Linked DNA regions of Homo sapiens: regions 1, 2 and 3 are each linked to region 4. Evidence: promoter capture Hi-C in human tissues and cell types (Jung and others, 2019). All regions are on one chromosome and are shown on one strand. The core of a region is centred on a gene start or on the middle of the fragment in contact, and the rest is flanking DNA. Distances in the headings are between cores, read along the strand shown. Region 1 overlaps CACNA2D3 (calcium voltage-gated channel auxiliary subunit alpha2delta 3). Region 2 overlaps CACNA2D3 (calcium voltage-gated channel auxiliary subunit alpha2delta 3). Region 3 overlaps CACNA2D3 (calcium voltage-gated channel auxiliary subunit alpha2delta 3). Region 4 holds the start of WNT5A (Wnt family member 5A).

Evidence for each region. Contacts are between HindIII fragments. The study calls those that stand out against the background at their distance.
Region 1: a fragment that was not itself captured here is called in contact with the fragment with the promoter of WNT5A in region 4 in 1 of the 25 tissues and cell types used here (IMR-90 fibroblasts).
Region 2: a contact is called between a fragment that was not itself captured here and the fragment with the promoter of WNT5A in region 4, in 1 of the 25 tissues and cell types used here (mesendoderm cells).
Region 3: a fragment that was not itself captured here is called in contact with the fragment with the promoter of WNT5A in region 4 in 1 of the 25 tissues and cell types used here (IMR-90 fibroblasts).

The regions. Positions count from the first base shown.
Region 1 is chr3:54,892,792-54,899,296 of GRCh38, reverse strand. CACNA2D3 (calcium voltage-gated channel auxiliary subunit alpha2delta 3) reads right to left here. Exons shown (of 38, transcript NM_018398.3): 26 at 2,427-2,548. CACNA2D3-AS1 (CACNA2D3 antisense RNA 1) reads left to right here. Exons shown (of 7, transcript NR_046666.1): 2 at 2,339-2,631; 3 at 4,542-4,684. Among named protein-coding and RNA genes, the nearest start is that of CACNA2D3-AS1, 5.2 kb to the left of the region's middle. The HindIII fragment of the contact is 8,357 bases long and covers 1-5,523 here.
Region 2 is chr3:54,873,062-54,879,541 of GRCh38, reverse strand. It overlaps CACNA2D3 (calcium voltage-gated channel auxiliary subunit alpha2delta 3), which reads right to left. Exons shown (of 38, transcript NM_018398.3): 19 at 453-524; 20 at 131-192. CACNA2D3-AS1 (CACNA2D3 antisense RNA 1) reads left to right here. Exons shown (of 7, transcript NR_046666.1): 4 at 598-854; 5 at 2,388-2,526; 6 at 3,231-3,273; 7 at 3,832-4,937. Among named protein-coding and RNA genes, the nearest start is that of CACNA2D3-AS1, 25 kb to the left of the region's middle. The HindIII fragment of the contact is 5,236 bases long and covers 1-4,501 here.
Region 3 is chr3:54,949,210-54,956,013 of GRCh38, reverse strand. All of the region lies in intron 27 of CACNA2D3 (calcium voltage-gated channel auxiliary subunit alpha2delta 3), which reads right to left. It also overlaps a transcript of LRTM1 not described here. Among named protein-coding and RNA genes, the nearest start is that of LRTM1, 25 kb to the right of the region's middle. RefSeq lists enhancers at 1-178, 1,172-2,164, 2,165-3,157. The HindIII fragment of the contact is 4,629 bases long and covers 1-4,539 here.
Region 4 is chr3:55,482,639-55,489,249 of GRCh38, reverse strand. WNT5A (Wnt family member 5A) reads left to right here and starts at 1,944. Exons shown (of 5, transcript NM_003392.7): 1 at 1,944-2,270. The coding sequence starts at 2,265. WNT5A-AS1 (WNT5A antisense RNA 1) reads right to left here and starts at 1,632. Exons shown (of 2, transcript NR_046656.1): 1 at 1,371-1,632; 2 at 942-1,260. RefSeq lists an enhancer at 1-320. The HindIII fragment of the contact is 9,126 bases long and covers 1-4,753 here.

The DNA of each region.
Region 1 (6,505 bases), core at 96-2,595, 590 kb after region 4:
AAAATTATTCTAAACAGGGATAGAGCTAGAGCATAATCTTCACTCCAAACTATTATTATTCTGGTAACAATATGGCATTAGTATTAAGAGATTTTCAATTACCAGCAATGGTTCCAATATCCACGAATTAAAAGATACTGAGCACAAATTCTGAATGCCTGGAGTTAATAATTTAGTCCAATGCCCACCTGCTAAAAGGTGCTCAATGAAAGTGAGTTGGATGAAATCCAATTGAATTGAGAAGCAGGGAAAAGTCAAACCTGAATATGAATACACTTAGGACCAAAGTAATGAGAAATTTTCTCCTGGCCCAAGTTTAAGCAGCAATAAAAACCAGTTTCTTTTCTAGTTTGTACAGGTATTCAACACATAGCAGAGAAAATCAGAGAGAGCTCCACCACAGAGACTTGCAGTTGGTGATTTTTAAGATTTTCCCGGACTCTAAGGGGGTTATGAAATGTCCTAAGATGTTACGTCATCTGTAACTTTGTCATGAACAAGGTAAACTCACTTCATTATACCATTACATTGAAAGTTTGGTGAAAATCCCAGTTACCAAAAACCAATCCAACAACAGCTTTAGTTAACTCGATGATTCCAGAATCAGAAGAACAGCAAGCTAAGTTCTATTATTTTTCTTTAGAGGATTGTGACAAGGAAGTCTTAAGAGATTGCTTGACAGAAGACAATGTTATTATTCATAGGTCTGCAGCAGAATGAAAAAGTTCACTGTCTCTTGATATTTTCAGCAACAAAGTGTGGTGCAGACAAGCACAAAGAAAGAGCTTCAGGCCAGGCATGGTCCCAGCACTTTGGGAAGCCAAGGAGGGTGGATCACTTTAGGTCAGCAGTTAGAGACCAGCCTGGCCAACATGGTGAAACCCCAACTCTACTAAAAATACAAAAATTAGCTGGGTATGGTGGCGGGTGCCTGTAATCCCAGCTACTGAGGAGGCTGAGGCAGGAGAATCGCTTGAACCCAGAAGGCAGAGGTTGCAATGAGCCAAGATCATGCCACTGCACTCCAACCTGGGTGACGGAGCAAGACTCTGTCTCAAAAAAAAAAAAGACGGGGTGGGGCGGAGAAGAGAGAGAGAGAGGAAAAGAAAAGAAAAGAAAAGAAAAGAAAAGAAAGATAAAGAAAGAAAGAAAGAAAAAAGAAAAAGAAAAAGAAAGAAAGAAAAAAGAAAGAAAGGAAGGAAGGAAGAAAGCAAGCAAGCAAGCAAGCAAGCGAGCTTCGGACACCTGGAAATTTACATTTGAGAAAGCACACACAACTACAGGCAGGCATACACACAGGTCTATCAGCAAAGGAGCACAGACCCAAAGAACCTTAGACCTGAAAAGAATCTAACAGATAATCTAGTCTGAAATCCCAAGCAGCAAAGAATCTCATCAATAACATTCAGCCTCTCCTTAAATATGTCCATTGATGAGGGACTGTCTTCCTAATGAGCCCATTCAACCAATTGTAAGAGCACTCTTTGCTTTCTACAAATTTCAAAAGCACCCTTTCTGAAAATATTTTCAGTCATGGAAATGACAAAGCACCAAGCCTTAGGGAGGGGGATTGGGCACAAACCCTGGAGAACTTCCCTTAGGATTGAGTTAGGAATATTTGTAGAAGATTAATATGAAAGGAACTGATATATGTAAAATATAACTACAGATTGAACTTTCCAGAGCAACCCAAGTTTACAGAACTAGGTTTCCTTCATCTCTCAAGTTTCTGCAATAAGCAGTATAGAGTGAGCACCCAAAATACCAGATGCATGAGGCAAGAGAAAAAAAAAATACGAGGAAAACTGAAGCATTTCCAGTATGTTTTGCTTCCAAAACTGGTGGAAATAAGACATCATTCAGTTCTTTTTGGAGGCAGGTGACTTTAATTTTTTATACTATCATATCATAAACTCTTAGGACTGAAAAACTAATCGGCTACATGCCTGTCATTGGTAACTGCAGGCTCCTGTCAAGAGAGCACATGGTTATACAAAGTCAGTCCTTAGTCCGGCATATCAGTTTAAATCAATTCAGTTCAAATGGGGAACAGTGGACCTCTGCAGGGATGTGACTCACTGAAGGTTCTGGCAAGGGATGCTTGAATTTTCTCTAAGTGGGGCCATGACTACATTTAAAAAAACTGACTGACAAGTTTCTATTAAAATCCCATAGGATGCAAAACATCAGCCCTGCTTCCTGAAATACATTTACATAATTTGGTAAAGGAAAAACCTTCCTTTTCTTTGAGGCTATTACTCTTATGGAACTGGTCACTGGTTCAGGGCTGACCCAATATTCAGCACTGGCTCTGAGGGTTGAACTTGGTTCCTTTCAGCATTCAGGCAGCTCCCCAACACCCTGCACACAATGCCCAGACCCACTGGACCAGACAGACAGAGCCCGCCTCCAACAAGGGCACCCACCAGTGCTGAATGGGATCGAGTAGACGAAGCTCCCTGGAATCTGCTCAGCGGCTCTTCGGTACCAGAGAGGGAAATGGTCTGCGTTAAAAATGTTCTCCTTGTCGCCAGCTTTCAGGAAGTCCCTTGAAGTGGAAAAGAATCAGAAGAACATGCATCACTCAGCAGAGTAAAGGTGGGCCTGGAGCACCCCGACAGCCTTCATCAGGTAAAACCAGTGTTCACTTTTAGAACCCCAACTTGCCTTTCTCAGTATAGAGGGGGCCTCACTTAACACTGTGCACCCCAGATTACTCAAAAACATCTTGCAGAGCTCTGGGAGTCAAATTCTGAGTGGGTAAAATGATTTTTCCTTGTATATCTAGTGAACTAATTGTCTTAAAGTCTGAAGCCAAGCAAACAAAGCCTACAGAAATCCTATCAGAAAACCCAAGGATGTCCCCTCTAAACAAGAAAGCTTTGTCTGGCTTTAATACTCACACACATATACTCATACCCTTGGGAGAATCAACTCCTTAAGTAGATCTCATTCTTCTTAGAGCAAGTGTAAAGAAGGTAAACACGCTTCTCAGAAGAAGTGCAAAGGAAGTAAATGTGAGCCCACACTGAGATCTTTGTACCTTCTTCCCTCACCTGCCTCCTCGCTGGACAAACAGGCCTGCTCATGCCCCCTGTGTGCATCCCCGCCCTCCACTGACTCCCTGCCTTCTGCGCAGAGAGCTTGTCTATCGGGAAGGCTAGGTGCAGTCTTCTTTCTATCTCTTCCTTTCAAAATCACACTCATTTTCAAAGTGCGCCTCATCTACCATCTACCCCATGAATCCACAGAAACACATGCAAGCTTTTGCCACACCCTGGGCCCCCACAATCTTGGTAACTTTCATATAGCCTTTTATTTATTTTTTGGCCTGCACAATCATCATATCCCCTCCCCAGACCTCCCAAGATCTCTGAGGACAGGAGATTTGTTCACATTTGTGCACTCTTCACAGAGCCTTAAGCATATTCAAGTCCCAGTGCATGATTATTGACCTGACATTCCCTCTGGAGAGTCACATGTGCTGTCCAGCACCTGAAGCGCCTCATCTTGGCTGATACGGTGCAACTCAGGCGGTGGGGGGATGACCGCCTGGTTAGGCCACAGTCTGCTGCAGACATTTTTCTGGAAGGGAGACCAATCAAGGGACAACATATAGGTAGGGAAAAGGCCATGAGTTGAAGCAGAAATGGCACCACTTTCAACCCAGCAGTTTGCAGCAGAGAGTTGGATCACAAGGACCATGGAGAGAAATTTTCATGCTAAGTTGTAACTGGTTGGTTTCCTGAACTTGGCACCCAGTTCAGGAAAGCATTCAGTAGTTGCAGGGTGTGTCTAACCAGGGTTCCCTTCACCTCTACCAAAGATGGAGTGCCCACTTTTGGAGAGGAGGCCCATGCCCTTCGAGGACACCCTCCAGGTTCTTAGATAGCTCTGGAATCTACCTCCCTGTAACTTGTACTAGCATGTCCTAACTCCTTTCTAAGGTCTGGGACCTTCCTCCTCCCAATATTTCCAGGGCCTGGCTCTCAGCAGGCGCTTGGTGTATGCTTAATGATCACAAGAAAAATCTAATCTCATATCCAGATAAGAGCTCTTCCAGTATTAAACACAATTTCCTATATCTTCAAAAATAAAATTTCTCAATTTGTTTAAATTCCTTTCTATGGCCGTCTTCATAAGTGCTCTACTTTGTTAATACTGCTATAAAATTTTGTGCTACTAGAACTAGGTAATTGTAGGTCAAAAACGGTCTGACATAGCATAGCTGCTTGCATTTGATCTTGACTCTTACTGACAAAATGACTCTCCAGAAATTAAAAGTGTTTAAAAGAAAAATTTTTACAAAGCACTCTTCTCTCATTCAGAAGGCTAAGGCCAACTTTGGAGTCATGTGCAAGACTGAGAAAGTGCAGAGATCCCCTGTGCTATCTAGAATGCTGGAGATCAGGACTTCCAGGCTCATCTTGGTAGACAAGCTCTTCTTTGTGCTGCTTGTATTCAGTGGTAATGTTTCCTAATCTAAAAGTCATCAGGCTTCAGGAATACTGAAATTTTAGCCTTTTCATTTCTTTCGCTAGACATGAAATTCTTCATAAACCTGACCTGGACGGTGTGAGGAGGAGCCTCTGTTGCCTGGCCCATGGCAGGATGCATTGCTACTCTCTACCCTGGGTCACAGGTGCAGCCACGACTGAGCAGAAGGTGTTCGCACTCCCAGCAGGTCTGTTCAGTGGTCATTACAGCTAAGAGGTGCCCTGTCTATGCAGCACAGGTTAATGATGCCCACAGGGGACCTTTTTCCAGAGTCATGGTAGATGAGATGGTGGCTTGGTTAGAAGGTATGAAGTGGTCCTCACTTAAGGCAGTGACATTCAGGCTTTGGGGGTGGCTGGCAATAGATCTGGAATGCTGCACATCTGGGTGTCCAGTGCCCTGCTGCCCGGGACAGTGCTGGCACCTAGGGCAGCCAGCAGGAGCCTGCAGCACTTGATCCCCATTAGCCCTGGTGTCACTGCGAAAGGACTGAGTTGCCGGGAAACCCTGGAGGCCTCTGCCAACTACTAGGCAGCAATTCTGGAGGAAACAGGAAGGAGCAACCTGATTTTACAGAATCCCAAAAATGTTCTTCAGGAAGAAAGATCCTTCTGGGTAAGGTGAAAGTCTCCTCCTGGATACTAGGAGCTATTGCAGTGGTGTGTCAGGCTGGTCTAGATTCTGGGAAGAACTGGGTGACTCTGAGTGAGTAATTGAGTCTCCGACCCCCATTTACTCATCTACAAAATGGGAACAATAAAAACGCTGCACTTTACCAGGGTTGTATCAGAATTACATAACACCATATGTGAAAGAGTGTTATGGACACTGAAAACAGGCTCTAACAAATATATGGGATTCTTAAAGCCCAAGAGCTCTTTTGTTCTTGGTGGTTGAAAGGGCAGGGGTAAAGTGGTCATCTTCTTAACTTAAGGCTGTACGCTGTGAAGGCTAACATCACTGGATGCTATATGCATGTGATGTGAGAAGTCGTACTGAAGGCACAGAATGTATTATAACTATTGGGGGTGACGGCCAAGTTTCAGTATAATCGACCTACTTCCAAATGCAGGTGGCGGGGGTATGGGATGAAATCTCAGTGTAGGAGACTGATGATAGTATGAGATAATTGCAGGGTAGCAACTTTATATTATCAAGTTCTCTGCCCAATACTTAAAGCTCTGCCTTTCATGCCCTAGTCAAAAGCAAAAACTAAACCAAAAGTCAGAAATGCTAAAAACTTTCTAAGCCTGGCTTAGAGAGTGTATCCAAATAGCTGGATCTTGACAAATACCATTTGATGGGAGGGGATAGGCAGGTAAGACCCTAAGACAATAGATGTCAAGGTGCCTCTATATGAAGCAATGACAGGAGTTTCTTGAAGACAGATTTCATCCATTCAAATTGTCAATGAGTACCCACTCTGTGGGTCACGTAATGCCACAAAGAATAGAACACACAGTTGTAGGAATTTTTAGCTTCCCAAAGAAATTTTCCATCCATAAAAAAAAAAAGAGTTTTTTTGAGACAGAGTCTCACTCTGTTGCCCAGGCTGGAGTGCAGTGACACAATCTCAGCTCACTACAGCCTTCACCTCCCGGGTTCAAGTGATTCTCCTACCTCAGCCTCCTGAGTAGCTGGGATTACAGGTGTGTGCCACCATGCCCGGCTAATTTTTGTATTTTTAGTAAAGACAGGGTTTCACCATGTTGACCAGGCTGGTCTCAAACTCCTGACCTCAAGTGATCTGCCTGCCTTGGCCTCCCAAAGTTCTGGGATTACAGGCATGAGTCACTGTGCCCAGCTCATCCATAATTTTTTTTGATCTTCACAGTAACCAAAAGAGATCATCGCTCTCACTTTTCAGGAGGACAGAATGAAGATACCCAAGTGAGATAAGCCAGGTACACCTCCCAGCATCCTTACTGTGGTCCTTTGTCTTTTAAATCCATCACAATAACACAGTTATCAGACCAGCAAGGTGTCATGTTTTATTGTTACTGTTTTG
Region 2 (6,480 bases), core at 634-3,133, 610 kb after region 4:
TCACTCTTTCCAGCCTTTTGGCAGGGTGTTTGGTTATCTTCAGATGATGAGCTCTGAGAGTGTCAGCAGGTTTTGTACAAACACAACTGATGGGTCTGATGGAATGTCCATGTATTATGGTCAGCTCTACCTGAAAGGAGTACCCTTGATGTCTGTATAATAGTAGTCATTTGTCATCACCAAAACCCGTTTCTAGATTGAAAAAAAAAAAAAAGTCGTAGAGAAAAGAAAACATGGTTAGTCTGCTAAGTGACGTCTTCAGAAATAAATAAAAATAAATGGACACACTATGATCAGGTTAACAGTACTACATGAATCTTGTTTGAGATAAGTAAAGACAAGAGAAAAATGATCTCAGCGAAAGATATTTATTCCAGATATAGCTTTCAAAGCTAATTTTTCACAGTGGTTTGTTTTAAATTAAGCAGCAAAAATGTTTGAGAAAAATGTACCCCTTTGTCCACTGTCTTCTTCACCTCCATGGAAAACTTCCCCGTCTTTCGATTCACCATAGCATTTCTCAACTAAAATGATAAAAGAAAAGTGTGTTAGTTCTTCCCTGGGTTATCATGTAATCTGGACATCTTGCATCCTCAGCGTGCAGTGGAGCCTCCATATTGAACTTACACCTCGAAAACAGAGCTTCTGAAGAATAAAACACCCAACTGCTCATGTACAATGGGAGACAGGCTAACAACAATAAATAAATGACCTTCATCTTTAATTTGGGGAGCTCGTGTAAACTTCAGGACAATAACAAAAGAGCCTTGGCGATACTGATGAATCCCGGGGGTCAGAGCGTGAACTCCTGGAGACCCGCTGAAATGCCGAGCAAGAACGTCTCTGGGGACAAGGTACGTTTTCAAAAAGGGTACTGATTTGTCATGGAGAAATCACTTTTCAAAACGTAATCAAGTTAAAGACGTTTTCCTACACAGTAGTTAAAAAGAAGAAGAAAAAAAAAAAAAAAGGCCAAGCATTTGGAAGACAGGGGTTAGCCTTTCCTAAGATGAATCATCTTTAAATGCTCTCTGAGAAATCTGGGCCAATTAATGACCTTGCTGATGAGGCAGTGAACAGGAGCGACCCTGTATCTGATTTTTTGGAGGTCCTGTTTAGGAGCAGCGAGCCTGGCTCTCCTCCCCCACCCCCAGCTGACCTCATCTAATTACATGTGGCCCTTCCATGAGTTCAGAGGAGGACAGCAGACGCAGTGATGAAAGATGTGCCGTCATGGGCACCAAGGCAAGACGACAGAGAAGGCCAGTTAATGGAATAGGAGCAAACGCTGACATGCCACAGCCTGTCAGGAAAGGCTCTCTCCCCACCCCTCTCTTGTCTTTTTCATCTTTTCCCCTCTTTTCTCCTTTGAGGAGCTTGAGTAAGATCTGGCCGATAGAAAACTGCAACACTAGCAAGCAACCTAAATTTGATTCGAGGCTGTCTAGATTTGGGTTTGCATTCTCATCTTCTGTGTGAGTGAGTAAAGGCATAATTTTTAGCTGGAGGCATGTATAAAATAAAACATATATTTTACTCTAGATATTTTTTTAACAACACATAATAGGCATTTCTGGAAATATTTTCCCATTTTAACTTTTGTGGTTTTGGACAGGGAGAGCTGGTCCTAATTAAGTCTACTTTCTAACTTTTAAGAACGGCTCGATTTATCTTTAACATGGTTTTCATTTTTCCTCTTTCTGGTGCCTGCCTAAAGCCATTTGGGACCTTCTCCTCTCACATTCCCCAGGCAAACTAGAGATTAGGTAAGCCTCGCTGTGTCTCCATGCCACCCCACCCCCAACTCCCAGTAGCACAGAACAATCAACATGGGGGTCTGGGAGTGTCCAAGGCCAGGGTCACTGATGCCTCCTTTAGTCTTGCCCTTGTCTTAAATCATAACAAAAACAGGTTATACTTATTGAACCTACTAGTGAAGCAGGATGGCACTGTAGTTAAGGAATGGACTCTGGAGCCAGAGCTTTATGATCTTGGGTATCTCGATCACTTACCATCTCTGTGACTCAGCTTCCTCTTCTGAAAAATGGAACTAATGCCAGCACCCATCCCATTAAGTTGTAGTGAAGACTGACGAGTCAATATTTAGAAGAGTGTCTGGTGCCTCCCAAGCACTCAATACATGCTAGCTATCCTCCATCATCATCAACACCACAGTCAACAGTATCTGTATCATCGTCATCCTCATTACCATCTTGCTCATTTTCACTTAGTGTCAGACACCTTTCAGTAGCTTAAAGCATCAGGATTCGGACTTGAGTTTGCTTGAGGCAGATGCCCAAGCTCAATGTTTTCCAAACTGTTTTGACTTTGAGCCATGTAAGAAATACATCTTACTCTGATGAGCCCCTCTCTATCTCCTATTTTAGTAGATTTCGTTGCTATGTTGCTCATGAACCACTAAATGGATTTTGTGACCTCTCCTCCAACTCCCCACATTGAAAACTGCTGCTCTTAACTGCCTGTAGGTTTACATAGACCGAAAAGGAGACAGCCCCAGGTAAAGAGGTAAACCACGATATCGATGTTCAAGTTTTGCCACTGACACAAGCCAGCTGTCCCGTGACCTCTCTGTGGCTCACTTTCTTCCTGTTTCATTCATTCTGTCTAAAGTGTTCATGAGTGAGGACTCCCAGATCCCAGGGATCCTGTCAGGGGCTATAAAAAGGGAGGTCATCAGATTCCTATGAAATTCGGATACTACTGAGAGATACTGTTTACTGAGTTCTTACTGAGCTCTTACTGTGTGTCAGGCACAGATTTTAAACCCCTCAAACTTATCTTCTGAGGTGCTGTTATTATCTCCATTTTACAGGTGGAGAAATAGGCACAGATAAGAAGTTTGCCCAGGGTAACGAGGCCTCTGCCTCTTGAGCCCATGCTCTTAACCTCTGCTTCCCAAATCAGAAGAGAAAGCACTTGGACAACATTAAATACTTTATAGCATTAATATAAAAATCATATATTATTTCTGAGTTTTTAAAAATCAAATAAAATGTTTTAACAATTGACCACGTCATAGTCTGAGGTCCTAACTTCCTGGCAGACTCTTCTACGAGCTCTAAGTACTATGATCTAGGGTTGACAGGAAGGTGGCTTTCTGTCCTCCTTGCCAGAGGAGGAAAGGGAGTTTGATGACTTAATAGACTGCCCTGTGAGAATACAGCACTGTGAGGCTGGAACATTCTAGAAATGTCACTTTTTTATCTTAGGAAGCTGCGGCTTGAGAAGAGGAGCAACTTGCCCAGAATCACAGTGAGTGGCACCCCTAGGTTGTAAGACGGCAGAGGAGTCCTAAGCACAGGCCAAAGTGATGGGGAAGAGCAATGCAATCAGTCCCCACCTAAGGCGGGGAGGGCAAGATGTTCACTGCTTTGAACTTGCCACTGCTTGGATTTACAACAGTGAACAACTGGAAAAATGCAAATGGCCTGGCGGAGGAAAATTTCCAAACAAGTTTTGATGTGCCCATATGTTAGCATATTATGTAGTCATTAAAAAACCCATGTGCAGCTGTTCAACTTAACACATAGTCAGAGAAAGGCAAATTAAAACATCAGTGGCATACCTTGATTTTTCCATATCAGATATCAAGCATTCGCAAGTGTGGTAATGCAATGGACATTAAAGCAGCTTGTACCACAGTGTACTCAATAAAATAAAAGGTAAAATCTCCTCAAGCTGAAAATACTCATCTGGCGACAGTGATCAGCCTCTCCGCTCTCTGGGAACCACCCTTTCCCCTGGGCCCTGCATTGTCCAGTTCAGATGTGCTTCTCCAGAGCCCCTGGTGAATGTGTCTCTCTTCTGCAGTGCTGAAGCAGAAGCTCCTTGGATAACCACTCAAAGCACCCACTTTCCTGCCAACCTCGTTACAGGTGGAAGCCACGTTTCCTGTTTCATTGTTAGTCTGCTACTCTGACCAGCCATGTTACAGTTCATTAAGGAAGCTTTCCCCAGAGATTCACTGGCCACCTTAAGTTGTGTGTATGATTATGGAATGATAGCTCGTGCTCCTAATGGTGGCTCATTGTCCACATTAGAACGTGAGCCTCACCTTTTCTGGTGCACAGGCAGCCTGCATTTCTAAGCCCCTAATGACATGCAACCACAGACAAGCTGGCAGTTTAAAGAGGAAGGGAGACACAGTGGATAAACAGGTCTGTCATTCCCAAGCAAGCATTCAACCAGCGTAGGAAAACAGACTTGAGCATGGAGAACCTGCAAAACATTCTCTCTCTCTTCCTCCTCCCCTATGTGTCAGTTTGGGTTTGGAGGGGGTGGGGGAGTGCTGTGCTTAGTTTGGGTGTCCAGAGCTCAAGCATGAGCTGGAGAGACACTCTGGGAAGGGTATAAAAAAGAATCAAATAAATGGACTAAGGTCTCAGAAATATGTCCCATGAAAAAGGCTTTTTTGCCTTATAGGGCTTCGGGCAAAAAAGACTCCGGAGAAATTTTCCATCAGAGTCATCATGGGTATGAAGCAATGTAGTTGCCTAGAGGGTAGTAGGGGAAAAAAGGCTTTTACCACAACAGAAGGGATTGTAGTTAGATTCAAAGCAGCATCTATGGGGCAGTACTCACAACAATACCATGCAGACAAACATCTGTTTAGCAGCTACTATGTGCAAGGCACTCCCTATCTTTTCTGCACCCCCCGAGGAGGATAACCCATATACTATGCGTCACTGAAATAGAGTCTTCAAGGACTCCTGGACTCAAGGACTTAAGGGCTCTCTCCATGGAATATCCAAGTGTCAAGACCACGGCTCTGTGGGCCAGGCTGCCTGAGTTGGAATCCACACTCTATGTCCTTAGGCCATTACATCCATTCTCTGCCTCAGTTTCCTCACCTGTACAATGGAGATAAAACACCCATTTCATAGGTTCACTGTGATAAATAAATAAGTTCACTCATGAACTTAGAATGGTACTGGTGTACAGGAAGAGCTAATATATGGCAGTTATTATTTTTATGAGTTTTTTTCTATTAATAATCACATTCAATGTGGAAAGCTTGGGAATGACTGGAAGTTAATAGGAACAAAACAAAAAAATCACCCTCAATTCCTTGTGCCATCTCTGAGAATTTATAACCAAAGGATAAACGCTATTTTTAAGATAATTTTCCCTTCCCAGAGGGGATCTACACTGGCAATTCAGACTGGGCTATGCATGTCTCAAAATCCCCTGCTGGCACACGGGTCCGCCAAAGATCTGCCCTACTTATTGTATTCCTGCCCTGATGCCTAACTCATCCTGCAGAGTGGGACAGAAGTCCTGCTCATACTGCTATAAATAGTTTTAAATTGTTGTCTTTTTTTCTTTTAATTTTAGCCAGTCTATTTTATATACATTGTAACAGTATATATGAACTTACTTCATTTTTGGAAGTATGCAGGTTATAACTGTGGTTACTAAATTCAGGAGCCTACTTCCTAGAGAAGTAGAACTCACCTTCCAAGAAATTCTCTGCATCTGGGCAGACTCTACTGCTTCTTCCTCAGTGGGCTGTGCTTACATGTTCTTTCCTAGATTTCAACCTAAACCCTGTCCTCTGCTACTCAGGTGCAAATCCCAAGGCCCAGCACATGGATATGTAAGATTTTGTGCAGACTTCACAATGATGCTTTCTGTAGATTCCAGAATTCTCCAATTAGTGACATGCAAATCCCCAGGAGAGAAATGGTGGTTTGGGTTTTCCCAAGTCAAATATGTTGATAGAGAAGGAATTCACATTCCAAATGCACCATATTCCAAGGCGACAAGTTAAGAGACTCAAACCAAAGACGTAACCAGAGAACAATTTGTGCAGAACAAAAGCACTGGACTTGCTTGAGATGTCCAACTCTGAAGTTGGACAGACAGAACGCAGTCCTGGGTGTCATGTGGAGGTGAAGAACACACACGTGAGGCTGCGAATCCAATGCCTGCAGCTCCAACGAGAAAGCAAAGTAGGATGAGGAGATACAAAGTGTTCCCAAACTGTGATTACTAAAGGAGACATTCGCTCACTGAAAATTAGCTGGGGCACAGGTGATGACTGGAGTGAGCTGAGTCATACATCTCTTCAAGTAGCATGCAAAAAGGGAGACGATTCAGTGAGGTCACAAACAAGCAAACAACAAAAAAAATAAATCAACAGATAAAGTGAAGAAGGAAGAGGAAGGGCAACAATGGAAAGTCCCCTCCAAAGATTCCTAGCAACTGTAAATCCACAGGACATTCATTCATGACAGGGTCCCCTGAGGACTGAGGAGGTCAGAATAATACTAACAATGGCTACCACTTGTAGAATGCTTACTTACTCCCCAGAACAGTGCAAGTACTTCTCTGTTTTTCAATCTATTAATCCATTTAATCCTCAGAACAGCTCTATGAGGTGGGGACAACTGCCATCACACTCATTTTCTTGGGGAAAAATAAAACAAAGAACACAAAATAAAACTGAAGTCTAGAGAG
Region 3 (6,804 bases), core at 976-3,475, 530 kb after region 4:
TTTTCCCTCTCATTTCCTGGAATCTCAGGACCTTAGAATATGTGGGAGTCAGCCCTGGAGTGGAGAATACCAATTTTTTCTCTTCATCAGGCAGATGGCGAGGCTGGAAAAGCCATCTTCTGTTGTTAAGCCACTGCTCCTTGACTCTCACCAGGTTTCGTGAGCAGGCTTAGCTGGTCAGGTCTCCTGAGGGTGGGCTGTGAGGTGGGGCTGGCACTTTCCCATCTGATTTGGCAGGTCAACTCCAACTCCTTCTCAGCAGGGCCAATACCCAAAAAAGCCCCCTCGGTAGACAGAGGCCTCAGGGGAGAGCCAGGCTGTCTGATCTCAGTGTCCCTCAATTTACACATTTCTCCATTCCACCAACATTCTGTTGGGACTCAAAGAATGATATCCCAAAGACTGGAGCTTTGACATGCTGATAGACCTTAGAAGCTGCCTCAGAATCAACGTTCCTCTAGCTTAGTATTGTTTCTCCTCTTATCCTAAGTGCAGGGAGGGACTCTCTTTGGAATATCCTCATCTGACCAAGAGAGCTTTTTTTTCTTTTTTCTTTTTTCCAAAAGAAATGCAATTGTCTTAAACCCCTGCCCTAGAAATCTCATCAAATAACCAGGAAAGATCAATGACCAGAGAAGAGAGTGGGAGTCATCACCAGCCCAGACAGACTTTTCATCTGTTCTTCTGAGAGTAGCTTCAAGAGATTACCTGCGGGACATTATCTGCATAATAAGACAACCTTTGTCCCTGTGCAGCTCTGCCCCTCACCTTCCCTAATGTCTGCCCGTCTCCTCCAGGGTGGGTCCCCATCTCCCCTGTCCCCTGTGAAAAATGTATATACAGTATGTAAGCTTCTGTACCCCACTGGGTTATTGGATAATCATTCTCCTACGATTCCCCATGTTACGTACGTTCGAATAATTTTGTATGTCTTCTCTCCTACTAATCGGTCTTTTGTCAGTTGATTTTCAGCAAACCTTCAGAGGGTGAAGGGGAAGTTTTCTCTACACCTCTCATATTCCCTAAGCATAGCTGGTGCCCAGTAAGCATTCAATAAAAGCTAGATGAGTAAATGAATGAGCAAATGCACTGTGGTCCAGACACAAGGAGGTTAATCGGCGCCTCTCATGCTGTCTCTGAGAAATAACTCTGAAACCCAGTTGTTCTTCTTTCTGAAGATTCCTGGCACCCCCTGGCTCTTCTCTGTTCCCTCAGCTAAAGCATTCCATGCTTAAGGCCTCAGGGAAGGGAGGACACACAGGAATCCAGAGAACAAAGAAGCAGATTCTGGATTTTTGACTCTCAAAAGCTGAGGCCTGGGGAATCTCAGGGCAGGAAGAAAAACAGGGGAACTGCCTGGGCCAGTTTGTCCTCTCTGCACCCTGTCTTCTCCACACCCTACCTCCAGCCTCCTGAACGAGCTGCTCAGGAAAGATGATTTGGACTGGAAAGGGAAGAGAATCAAAGGGAAGCCGAAGGGCTGGTAGACCCCGACAGAAAGATATGCACCCTGATGTCTGGGCAGGCATCTGCCTTCCTACCTTGGGTCTAACTCTGGAAACTACCAGAGCAGTGAGGAGTATTCTGCTCCACACAGTCCTTTCTCTCCTATTGCTGGGAAGAATGTGAAAGCATCCCTGCTCTAAGCCCTGCTACTGCCAGAAAGGAGACAGCCTCCCAGAGGCCACAGACAGACAACTCAGTGGGGAAGTGTTCGTGCTCCCGCAGGCTCTTCAGAGTGAGGCCCAGGGAGCTGCCGACTGACTCGAAGGTGACCTTCCCTTGGAATGAGGAGGCCATAGCACTGACCTGTGCCTGGACTGATGACAGAAGACCAGATGCGACTGGGTGACTCAGGAAATGCCTGCATGATGACATGATTAAATAACCCCCTCTCTCTTTGGCCTCAGGTAAACCCTGGGAATAGGCAGAGAGACACTGAATTCATGGAAAGTTCTTGCCTACTAGGATAATGAAGACTTCTGATGGAAATTAGGTTGAATTCAAATAAAACTGCATGGATGGCACTCCTGAAATCTGTGGACTGAAATCTGTGGCCTCTGCTTATTCATGACACAAGAACATAAACAATGGAGCACTTAGCAAAACGGGGTGACCTCAAGAGGCTACTCAGACTCCAAGTCCCAGGCCTTTCCTCAGGTCTGCTTGGGGCTGATCCTGGAAGAGAACCTAGGGTTGTGCGCACTGACTTGCAGTGCACCCCCCTCACCCACTCCCAGTGATTCCCACAGCCTGTCAAGCTAGCAGAGGCAGGAGCCCGAGGTTGCCCCAAGCGTTCACAGGCAAGGGGGAAACAACCAGCACAATGGCTTAATCCTCACCTCCTTCCCAGCTCCTGGGGAACTGGACCTTTTAGCATGGACAGAAGTCTTTAAAATAGAAAGGATCGTGGATGTCCAAGTATTGCAAGAAGTGGCTTTGAGAGAATAAGGTCTCCTGAGGCCTTGTTGTAATGACTGGTACTTTTCCTCTACGCACAGCATGGGCCATCTGACCACCAAGCGCGAAGGCTTCAGCTGCGTCCCATGATCTTGGCCCAGTGCTATCTGTACTGAGGGTGGGGAATTTCATGAGTCTCACCTCTATAGGTAAGAAGCCGTAGTGTTACCGGGCCCCACCACTTTAGCAGTTTCTTAGTTACTATCTGTGTCTGCTTCCTTCCCAGATTTGAAAATTTCAGACAAACTTAGGGCTGAGTCCTGCCTGTTTCATGTACATGCAGCATGCCTTCAGAGTCAGTTTTCTCATTTGCACAATGGGAACAGGAGTCATGCACACCTTATACGTTTGTGCCTTAAATGAGCTAATGTATGTCATGAGCCTAGCACAGTGCCAGGCACATAGTAAATATTCAGTAAATGTCACCCACACATACACATAACAACAGGTATGTACATTAAATACATGCATTATTTAATCCATATCCTGGTTTCCTCCCCTGCAGTTGAGTCTCTGTACAGTTTTTCCAAGACTGGAGAATGACTCCTGCTCAACAATCCATCCACTAAGCAGACTCCATGTCACCTTCAGGAACATTAGGCTTCAAATCCCTATGAAAAGTTTCCTCCTTTGTTGCTGGAAGACAAGTAAGCCAGACCTAGTGTCATCTCAACCACCCAGAACATTCCCAACTCTGCTGAATTTGTAAAACATCCAAAGAGCACGTGGAATCCTCATAGATAGATATTGTCATTGTCCCTCTGTTCTACAGCTGAGGGCATTGAGGTTTTGGAGTGGCTGGGCTGGAAAACAGATGAGAGAGCTTTCCCATCTGGAAGCTGGAGGGAACTATGCGGGCACCAGAATTTGAACCCATGAACACCAGATCTTTCTGACTTCAGAATAGAAGCAGAAAATAAATAACTATAATGAATGAGCCAAAGGGACTCACCTAAAATTACTTCAAAAAATATGCATTTAATGACCCTGTCCCTATAGAAAAGATTGACATTCCGTCTGCTTAATATGAGATTGGTAAGTCCACATTTTCTTGCAAGTTTTTGCCTCATGTTTTATTTTTTCTTTCCCACATCTGTGAACTGATCTGTCTCTGAGAGCCCAAAAAGAGCTCCTAAGATGCTCATGACATCTTCCAGAGCCTCCAGACCCTTCATGTTTGCGGCCTCCCTCTGAAGAAATAAGACAACTGGGGAGCCTCCTGGGAAACTAGGCAGGGCCCCAGAGAGATCAGAGCCCTGGGGGGCTTAGTTTCTAGGAAACCTGTGCCCACAGGGGTGCTGCAGAGTGCAAGGCCAACATCCTTTGTCTCTAAGAAGGCGGTTACAGAGGGAAGAAATAGTATAGAACCAACAGGGGTGCAGGAGGCAGTTTATAAACACAGCTGGCCAGCCAGGCCCAGTGGCTAACATGTGTAATCCCAGCACTTTGGGAGGCTGAGGCGGGCAGATCTTGAGGCCACGAGTTTGTGAGCAGCTGGCCAACATGGTGAAATGCCATCTCTACTAAAAAGACAAAAATTAGCCAGGTATGGTGGCAGGCACCTGTAGTCCCGGCTACTTGGGAGGCTGAGGCAGGAGAATCATTTGAACCTGGGGTAGGGAGGTTGCAGTGAGCCGAGATCGCGTCACTGCACTCCAGCCTGGGTAATGGAGTGAGACCGTCTCCAAAAATTAAAATAAAATAACAAGCATGGCTGGTCCTAAGAAGACAGAAAATAGAATTACTGAGGGCCCACTCTGGGCCAGGAACCCACCCTGTGTTATCTTACTTAACTCTTCAGCCATCCTGCAAGGGAGAAGATGTTTTCTCCATTAAAGAAAAGGTACACGGCGGTTCAGTGACTTAACCAGGGCTGTGCAGTTGCCAGGACTTCTTGGAACTGGGACTGGAGCCCTGCACGCCTGACTCAGAGCCAGCCGCCCTGTGGCTCCCAGGCTCTCCTGTGGTTCTCAGTGGGGCTGCGTCACCCCCTAGGGGTCTGTTCTGGAAGTCTGTAGAGATGCTTCAAAGTTCACAGTAACTGAAATCCTACAACTCACAGGACAGCAGCCCCCCACCCCACTGCCCCCGGGCCGCACACCAAAGAACAGTTCCATGTCCCTAATGGTGTCGATGGCTTGGAACTCTGTTTTATGTCCAAATACAAAGTATGTCTTGCACATGGAATTTTCTAGAAACATTACTATAGTGCTGTGAAAGAGAGAGATGGGTCTTCTTTATCTTGTCTGCGGCTTGGCTATTACAGAGGTATCTGGCAGGATTTGTGGGTGAGATGTCTACATAGTGGCCACTGCATTGACAGATTTTGCACCAAAGTGCAGCACAAGCATCTAGCTACTTTATTCTGTATTATCTTGTAGTTATGCCCCAAAATATTACAATATCTATTTTCCTATTATAAACAACTCTCAACTAGTTCTTGATATTATAGTTGGAGCGTTCTGTAGATTTTTTTGGCAGCATATAGGAAAACAAGTTACATTTTCTATGAATTTCATTTGGAGATAGTAAAGGGAATATTACAAATGATTATTTAAAAGGAGCCTTGGGTGTGAGAAGACTCAGGACTGTCCTGGCTTCAGTTTCCCCTCTGCCACTGAGCCCAGAGAGTATCCTCTTTATTTTCCCTCTCACCCCATCTTGTCTGTGGCTCTCCTCTCCTGCTCTTGCCTTGAAAGCACAGACTTGGCTCAGGCAAACCTCACATGTCACCATGCTTCCTCTGTGCGTCCCTTCCCGTTTATTTTGGCCCCGATCAAGGTGCAAGATATTGGTATCTGAGGCTCAGCTCAACTGATGGATTTCCCATCTCACAGCCGAGCAGTAAAAGAACGGGTTCCTTTCGTGAGTAGAGAACCTGGGTCCTAGATAAGGAAAACTGTTGAGGCTGCCCTGCCACAGCCTGGAGCTGTGCAGGTCCACTCTCCTGTTGGCATATTTTCTTTGATCAAGCAGCATTCTTTGAATTGCTGGTAGGCTGGGAAACAGGAGGAAGCATTGCAAACTGCTTCTTCTTGCACAAAGCATCTTAATTATAATTATTGTCAGCATTATATCGCTGCCTTGCAAGATGAAGAGGGAAGGAAGGAACACTGCAATTTCACAGCATACACAGGTTCCCTAAAATGAGGAGGGGGTTGCAAAGAGTAAAAGAGCAAGGAACAGAGCCCTCAGCAGATTAAAAGGGGCCTTTGTAGTGGCTGCATCTGTACATTAAAATAAATCTCTCCCAGCACTAAAATAACATCTACGTTCATTTGGGCCAGTGCCACATTCAGCATTTAAGAAATTTGACAAAACATTGCTTGAGCATGTTGAAGTTTGCCAGCTCAGAACAAAACAAGAAAGCTACCTCGGCTGTATGGAAATAGTTCTCCCAGTTCCCTACTTTTCACTTATGACTCCCATTTTCCAGCTGCACTTGAAAGAAAAAGACTTCGCCCTTTTTTCAGGTGCCAACCACTTAGCATGGCCCTGAAATGCACAGCAAATTGCCACTGGAGGTGGTAGACTTCAAGACGAATCTTTTTCTTTTCCCCTAAAGGAAACTACTAGAGACTCTGCATGCCTGATGAAGCCTTTAATAGCTAGAGAAACATTATTTGGGGTGGCCCTCAGGTAGACTAGACATGAATAATGCCTCATAAAAATAATTACTTCTACCCAGAGCACAGCATGCCAGATGAGCTTGGCAGGGGCCCAGTTTTCAGAAAGAATCACAGGCAAAAAAAGTCTTCCATCCAGGAGCCTAAGGATGCATCTATCTGTGGCAGAGACCACAGTCACTTCTGTGGAGTGTGCCCCTGCAAAACCAGTTCTGAATTTTTCTGAGGCCCTGACCAACGATGTTGGGCGGTTTTTCAGGTTACTGTTTGCAACACAATTAGGCCTGAAATAAGTGACCAATGCGCTTGAGAATGTTGATAATGTGCCCTGATTCCAGTGCTGCCCCTTGGGTATGGCATCAATGGGTAGATTTACACAAGTTCTGAGCTGGAATGGTGGAGTGGGCCATTGAACCCAACCTGCTTATTTCATAAACCAATAATGAACGATCCAAAGAGGCTAGCAACTTGCCTGATGTGATTCATAGATGGCTCAAACTAATTTGAACTCCAGCTGAGCTGGAATAATAGACAGCTGTTACTTTTGCCAGCTGAGCAGGCATGTCCCCTTTTTTCAGCAGCAGAGACCCTCCCTCCTTATCCACACCTAGACCATTTCCTTTGGGGAGCTGTCATGACTCCAATTTCCAGTCCATGTGGCATGTGTAGGCTTCACCCTCCACCTGCTAGGCATAGGGATGCATCCTATGCTCCTGTG
Region 4 (6,611 bases), core at 695-3,194:
CGGCGGAAAATAACTATTACGCTCCAGTGTGAGGCACTGTTTGTGGGGTGGGGCCCTCGGCGTGCTGGAGGTAGCGGACACAAATCCACCAACCCTGCCCCTCCGGAGTCCCCAAAACCACGGGCATCTGGAAGCGTCTAGAAATTCCGGTGCCCGGAACCCGGTTTTGCCAAACTTCGCAATCTCCTCACCTGAGGGCACCCGCCAAGATCTCCGTGGCAGGACCACGCATCGCGCCTCATGCTCTGGGCCGGAGCCAGATGAGCAATCATGCATCCCACTACCCAAGTCCCTACTACTCTGGGGACTTTGCAGGAGGTGAGCGCCTAACCCTATCCATCAGCCCCAGTGCTTAAGTATCCTCCCCCAGAGGTAAGAATGAGGAGGTCCCCCATGAGGTTCCATGTCAAGGCAGCAGTCTCCGTGGAGCCCCAGTGGGAGCGGTCTGGGATACGCGGGCGAGCCAAGGGGTCCAGGCGGGGAAGTTGGGGTTCAGCCTCCCGCCGGTCGGTGGCTCTGGAAGGAGCGCAGACAACCAGGCGGCAGGCAGGCAGCGGCTGCGGAGTGGACCTCTCTCTTTCAGCAGATGCCGCGGGGGATGGGGAACTTAGAGAAGGGGAGACAAGGAGAGTGTACCCCGCCTCCCGGCACCCCAGCCCGTAGTACGGCTTTAAAATCCTGCAGAGTTTGTCATAGGCCGGCCTCACCACGCATGCGCATAGCAAAGTTGAGTTTTTTCTTTCTTCCCCCCCCTTCCCTCTCTCTTTCCAGCCGCCCCTAGTTCTGAAACTTTAAAGAACTTTTTTCTTTCTTTCTTTCTTTCTTTTTTTTTTTTTCTTCCTTCTGAGAACACCAGGGGAAAGAGGAGTCTGGAGAGAGGGAGGGAGAGAGTAAGGCAGTTGGCCAGAAGGGCTGGGGGGTGGGAGGGGGGGACGCGTCCCCGCGGTCGGTCAGTCTGTTTGCGGGGCACAGGATCGCGTGGAAATCTGCTGCGAGCTCCACGGAGCCGCCTCCGCCGCCCAGAGCCGGGGTCCGTGCGGCAGCTGCCCAGCGAGCCCTTCCGCCGCCGCCGTTGTGCCCGGGACCGCCCGCCTCCCGCCGGCCCGCTCTCCCGCCCCTCGGACCCGGGCGCCAAACGAGGAGGTGGGCAGCTTCGCCGGCCATGGACCGCCGGAGCTGAGTCGCCGCCGCGGAGCTCCGAGCTCTCGCCCTTCCCCAGCCTCGCGCCCGCGGTGCACTCGCTGCTCTTCGCCCTTCGCCCTGGAAAAACGGGGAAAAGAGAGATCAACCCGAAGAGAGAAAGAACGGGATACGTGGTGGGGGGGGGGAGCCCGCGTCTCCCCTGGGTTAGTCGCACCCCTCCAGCTCACCGCACAGCAATAAGTTCCGGGGCGACTTTCACCTATTTTGCTCCCCGTTTTTGCCGAACCCTAAAATGAAAGGACACAATTTGGGGCTGACTCTTGCAGCTCAGATGGCGACTTGTGCGTTTTCAGCGGCATCTCCCGGAGAAAAAGCCATGCGCGCCTGATTGTTCTGTGGCCCCAAAGCTGCAGCGGGGGTGTGTGTGTTGGGGTGTGTGTCTGTGTGTGTACAGAGACGTCCACACTAACTCGCGGCTGCAGGATCAGCGTCTGGAAGCAGACGTTTCGGCTACAGACCCAGAGAGGAGGAGCTGGAGATCAGGAGGCGTGAGCCGCCAAGAGTTTGCAGAATCTGTGGTGTGAATGAACTGGGGGCACCTGGGCGCACAGATCGCCCCCCTTCCCCCGCCCCGGGCCACAGTTGAGTAGTGGTACATTTTTTTCACCCTCTTGTGAAGAATTTCTTTTTATTATTATTTGTCGTAAGGTCTTTTGCACAATCACGCCCACATTTGGGGTTGGAAAGCCCTAATTACCGCCGTCGCTGATGGACGTTGGAAACGGAGCGCCTCTCCGTGGAACAGTTGCCTGCGCGCCCTCGCCGGACCGGCGGCTCCCTAGTTGCGCCCCGACCAGGCCCTGCCCTTGCTGCCGGCTCGCGCGCGTCCGCGCCCCCTCCATTCCTGGGCGCATCCCAGCTCTGCCCCAACTCGGGAGTCCAGGCCCGGGCGCCAGTGCCCGCTTCAGCTCCGGTTCACTGCGCCCGCCGGACGCGCGCCGGAGGACTCCGCAGCCCTGCTCCTGACCGTCCCCCCAGGCTTAACCCGGTCGCTCCGCTCGGATTCCTCGGCTGCGCTCGCTCGGGTGGCGACTTCCTCCCCGCGCCCCCTCCCCCTCGCCATGAAGGTAGGTGTTCAGTGCGCTGCCACTTTTTTTCTTTACTTCCCCCCACCCCCTGTTGGAAGTTAACTGAGTTCCCTTCGCCTCTTCCTATCCCTCCATTTCCCCAACCGCCTGAAGAAGCTGGAACTCCAGCGTCGCTGGCAGGAACCCCTACCCCTTCGCCCTCCACGCCGGGCGCACTGCCTCAGTGTCCCAGGAGATCACTTCTGGTCGCACCACCCGTTCTGCAAACAATTTTGATTTTTGAGAAAAAGTGGGGAAGAGCGATAGTAGACAAACTGAGTGCGGTTCACTGACGACTTTCCTTTTGCTCTGAGAACATCGAGTGTAATTTACTATGTATATTTCAGTAACAGGATAATGATTCAATTCAACAAATATTTACCAAGCGCCCACTGCGCGGGCACCGGGACGGTGTGTGGCCGGGGCTCGGGATGGGGAAAGGGACTCCTTGGTTGAGAGAACCCGCAGAGGAACTAGGGGCCAACTACTCCAGAGCGGCGTACACCTTCCCCGACACCCCCCCGCACCGACGGAGGCCAGATTGTAGGCTTGCCTTGGCCGAGTAACTCGAGCGCTTCAGGCCCCTTTGCCTTTAAGAGTGCCTGGCGGGGGGCCAGCGCGCACCCCGGCGCGGGGAGCGGGGTCGCGTTATTAGCATTATTAGCCGCCACTGGGTGAGCTCAGGCACTTTGCAGCAGTGGTGGGGGCGGGGAGTTGTGGTGGTAGTGGCTGTAATCCCGTACTCCGGGACAGCGCTCCCCGGCCCCCTGAGCGGAGTCCGCCTTGTCCTTTAGAAAACACTTGGGCCTCCGCTTTGGGAGAGCAGGCGGGGGCCAGTTTGCGAACTCTTGTTTGTTTTAATTGTCAGTTGTATGTTAAAGCCGAATCACACACTCCGAGGGTCACTGAGAGTTCACTTTTACGAAAAGTTAACGTTTCTTCCTGCAACATAAGTTTTTATTTTCTAAACAATTTTTCTTATCTGTCCTCCAAGCTTCGATTCCTATTTCCATTTTTCTGGTCTTTCCCATTTTAAGTTTCTTAGAAAATAAGGTTAGAATTGAAATTAAGATGTTTCCTGGAAGCAAATAACCCCTCTTCCCCCCAAAAAGTTAAAAAAAACAACAACAAAAAACTTCAAGTCTGGAGACCCCACGGCCCTGTTTGACTTTCTAATCCCTGTCTGGTATCGAGGCCCCTTCTCCTCTCTCGCCTCTCTTTTCTCTCTTCTCTCTTTAAATGGGTAATTCGCTGTTTGGAAGTAACTTGGGCCTTGCGGTGAGGTCGCACCTCCTCAGCCCCTGCCCTCCCCCCAGCCACCTTCGCACATTCACTGCCGAACCAGCCAGATTTAGTTTCTAGACAGACTCTGCCAGGGGAGTTTCGAGGGGGCAATGCGGAGAGTGCGCAGCGAACCGCGGGCCGACAAATGTGTGTGTGTCCGAGTGTGTGGATCCTTGGCTGCGTGTGTGTGCGTGTGTGTTTGTGTGTGTAGGGGAGTTGTTCTCGGGTCCAGGACGTAGTAGCCTTCGTCTCCTCCACCCCCCGACCCTCTCAACGGAAGACCCTCCCCAGGAGGCCCGGCCCAAGAGTCCCCTGTCTTCTCCTCCCCTCCCCCGTGCGCTCCGGTGCTCAAGGGGTTAGCACTATGCGCGCAGAACTCGGAGCCATCCCCGCGGCCTTTTCTTCCCCGCGGTGCGGTGCCGGCTGCCCCCTGTTGGCCGCCTTGAGGTAGGACTCCTGCGAGCCTCGGTTCCTTGGGGCGGGCGGGCGGGCAGCTGCTCCCCTCTCCCTCCCACCCCTGCTCCCTTCATCCCTCCCGACCACCAGACCCCACTCTCCCAGCAGGGGCCCTCGGAGGCCCCCAGAGGACCAGTTTCGCTGCGCCGCCGGCCGCTGCAATACGGAAGGGGCCACGGGTCCAGCCCAGCAAATGGGACTCGGCCAGCTGGACACAGGGTTGGTACCTCTTCTTCTGGGCTTGGGAAGGAGAGTGTCGCCCTAGGAGGCCTCGGGTCTGGCCTCAGCTGCCTCCCAACTCTCTATGATCGAGAACAAGTGTTGCTTTCCCGCTTTTCGCCTCACTTTAATCGTCTATTAAAAAGTGGGAGAGAAACTACCTTTAAAGAGTGGGGGTTGGACTATCATTTCATTTTCTTCCTCTGTCCAAGGACTCTGCTCCACCTCTGGACAAAGTTGATCCTCTGCCGAGAGGGCTAGACATCCTATGTGAGAAGGTGTGAGTGGTGTGTGTGTGTGTGTGTGTGTGTGTGTGTGTGTGTGTGTGTGTGTGTATCCTGGGGCCTGGAAAGCCCAGTCTAAGGGATGGACGAGGGGGCAGGAAACAGAGGAGAACCAGGCCAGACCGTTCTTCCCCTGGGGCCTCTCTATACCCGAACCTGGAACCTGCTGTCAGTGTTGAGGCCTGGGCGGCTCTCTTTTGTCATACTGATTCTGGCTCAAGGTGTAACCTCCGCCTTCTCTATCTGGCAATTCCCTCCTCCCCTACCCCGCTCCGCGCGCGCCAACACACATATTGCTGTGGACACAACCCTTGCGCCCAGGCGTGAGGCTTAGGGAGTAGTGGCTCCTTTGTCTGCTCCCCTAAAGCGGACCTCCTACCCGCCTGGGCCGGCCCATTCTTTAGCTCCTCGCGCCGCTCCCCGCATTCTCCAGGGCAGGACGTCCCAAGTTTTTGGCTGCAACTGAGTGCTCTCCTGCTAGTTTCTGCATCTCTCTCCTTGCTTTAGGGAGAGATCAGAGTGGGGAAAACAGCTTTCTTTTTCCACCAAGAGTGGAGATTCTTTTTGGAGTTTCCCATCCTCCCCTTCGCTGCCATAAGCCTGGGTCAAATGGGCTTCTTCCGCCTATTTGGCGTCCCTCATCGTTTCACTCCCAGAAACTTGGGGCCTAAACGTAGAGAGTCTAGCAGAAGGGGATGCCTAGACTGAATGTGGCAGTGCCCCGGGGCCGAGGGGAGAGGATCTTTGCTTGGCCTTTTTATCTATTCTCTTAAGGGACTGCCTGCGGAGGAGGAGTTGGGTGTTGCGAGACTTTAGGTGTGCATCCGGCTGCTCCCCGCGCCCTCCGAACGTCCTCTGAACAATTTTGCTACTGAGGTTTCCTCTCCCTCATCCCTCATCACGCCTGGCCCGCACCGTGGTTGGTAAAGAAGGATCAAGAACACCTTTAATCCGACGCGAAGGCTTTGAGGGATACATAGAAAGGGAGCCACGTCGTTGAGCTGCTCTGGATTGAAGAGGAGGACGCGGGAACGCCCTCCTCCACCTCACTCCTCTGGTGCGCTGAGCCCCTCAAACGCCCCCAGTCCTCCTCCCCGTGGCACGCGAGGAAGATTCTCAGTGTCCTTACAGAGTCATCTTCCCTGAGCCCCGAAAGTGTTGGAAAACATTTAGCCCCTTCTTTGGGAAACTCAGTTTCTGATCAGAATTTTTGTTTTACCCCTGGGGTTGACAGTCTCCCCAGAGGTCTCATTTCATACTGTCTTTTCGGATCTGATCTCTTGGTAAACAGGCGGGGATGTTTTACCCTACAGAGCCGATGTATGTGTGAGTTCGCTGTGAGTTCTTTGAGTGTCTCAAACTTGTGGGGCCTTTTCTCGGTTGCACTGGGATTGAAGAGGGAAGAGGGCCAAGGTGTTTCCGGGCAAGCGGCGGGGTTAAGTGGAGATGCGACTCGTGAGGCTCTCCTTTCCGATCCCCCTTTGGGACACCCTCTGCCTACCTCTACCCTGGAGCCAGGGAGACCCAAGTCTTGGTGACCGGATGGGCCCGCTCTCAGTTGGCCTGGGCTCTGGGAACTGGTGGACTCTCCCTGGGGGCTTCGGGCTGGGAGTGGGTTCGGTTTGTGTGGCTTCGGCTCTAACAAAGAGATCCGCTGTAATCCGCCGAATCTGTTATCAATTTCTCTGCTGCTTGAGCCCCGCCCCACGCGCCCCGCTCGCCGCGAAGCTTGGAAAGTGCACGCGGCCAGCACCAATCTGGGCCGCTGACTCGGAAACATGTCGCAGCGTGTGTGTCTATGCACGCGTGTGAGTGTGTAAATGTGCACGAGTGTGAATGTGTATGATGTGTGTGCACGCGGCATCGGCTGCCCTTGGGGAGAGTTGACTTTGCAGCCTGGGCTGCGCGAGAAGCAGACTTTGCAGCCCACTCCCTCCCCTGGAGGAAATTTGACACTTAGGGCGGGGGTGGGGAGATAGCCGGAGCCTTCTCTCTCCTAGCTGGGGAAACCCCAGATTTCCATTCTCCAGGATGCGCCCCCCAGCTTTGCAGCGTTTTGGGGACAACTGGGCCTTGGGTGTGGAGCCCTGCTTAGCAG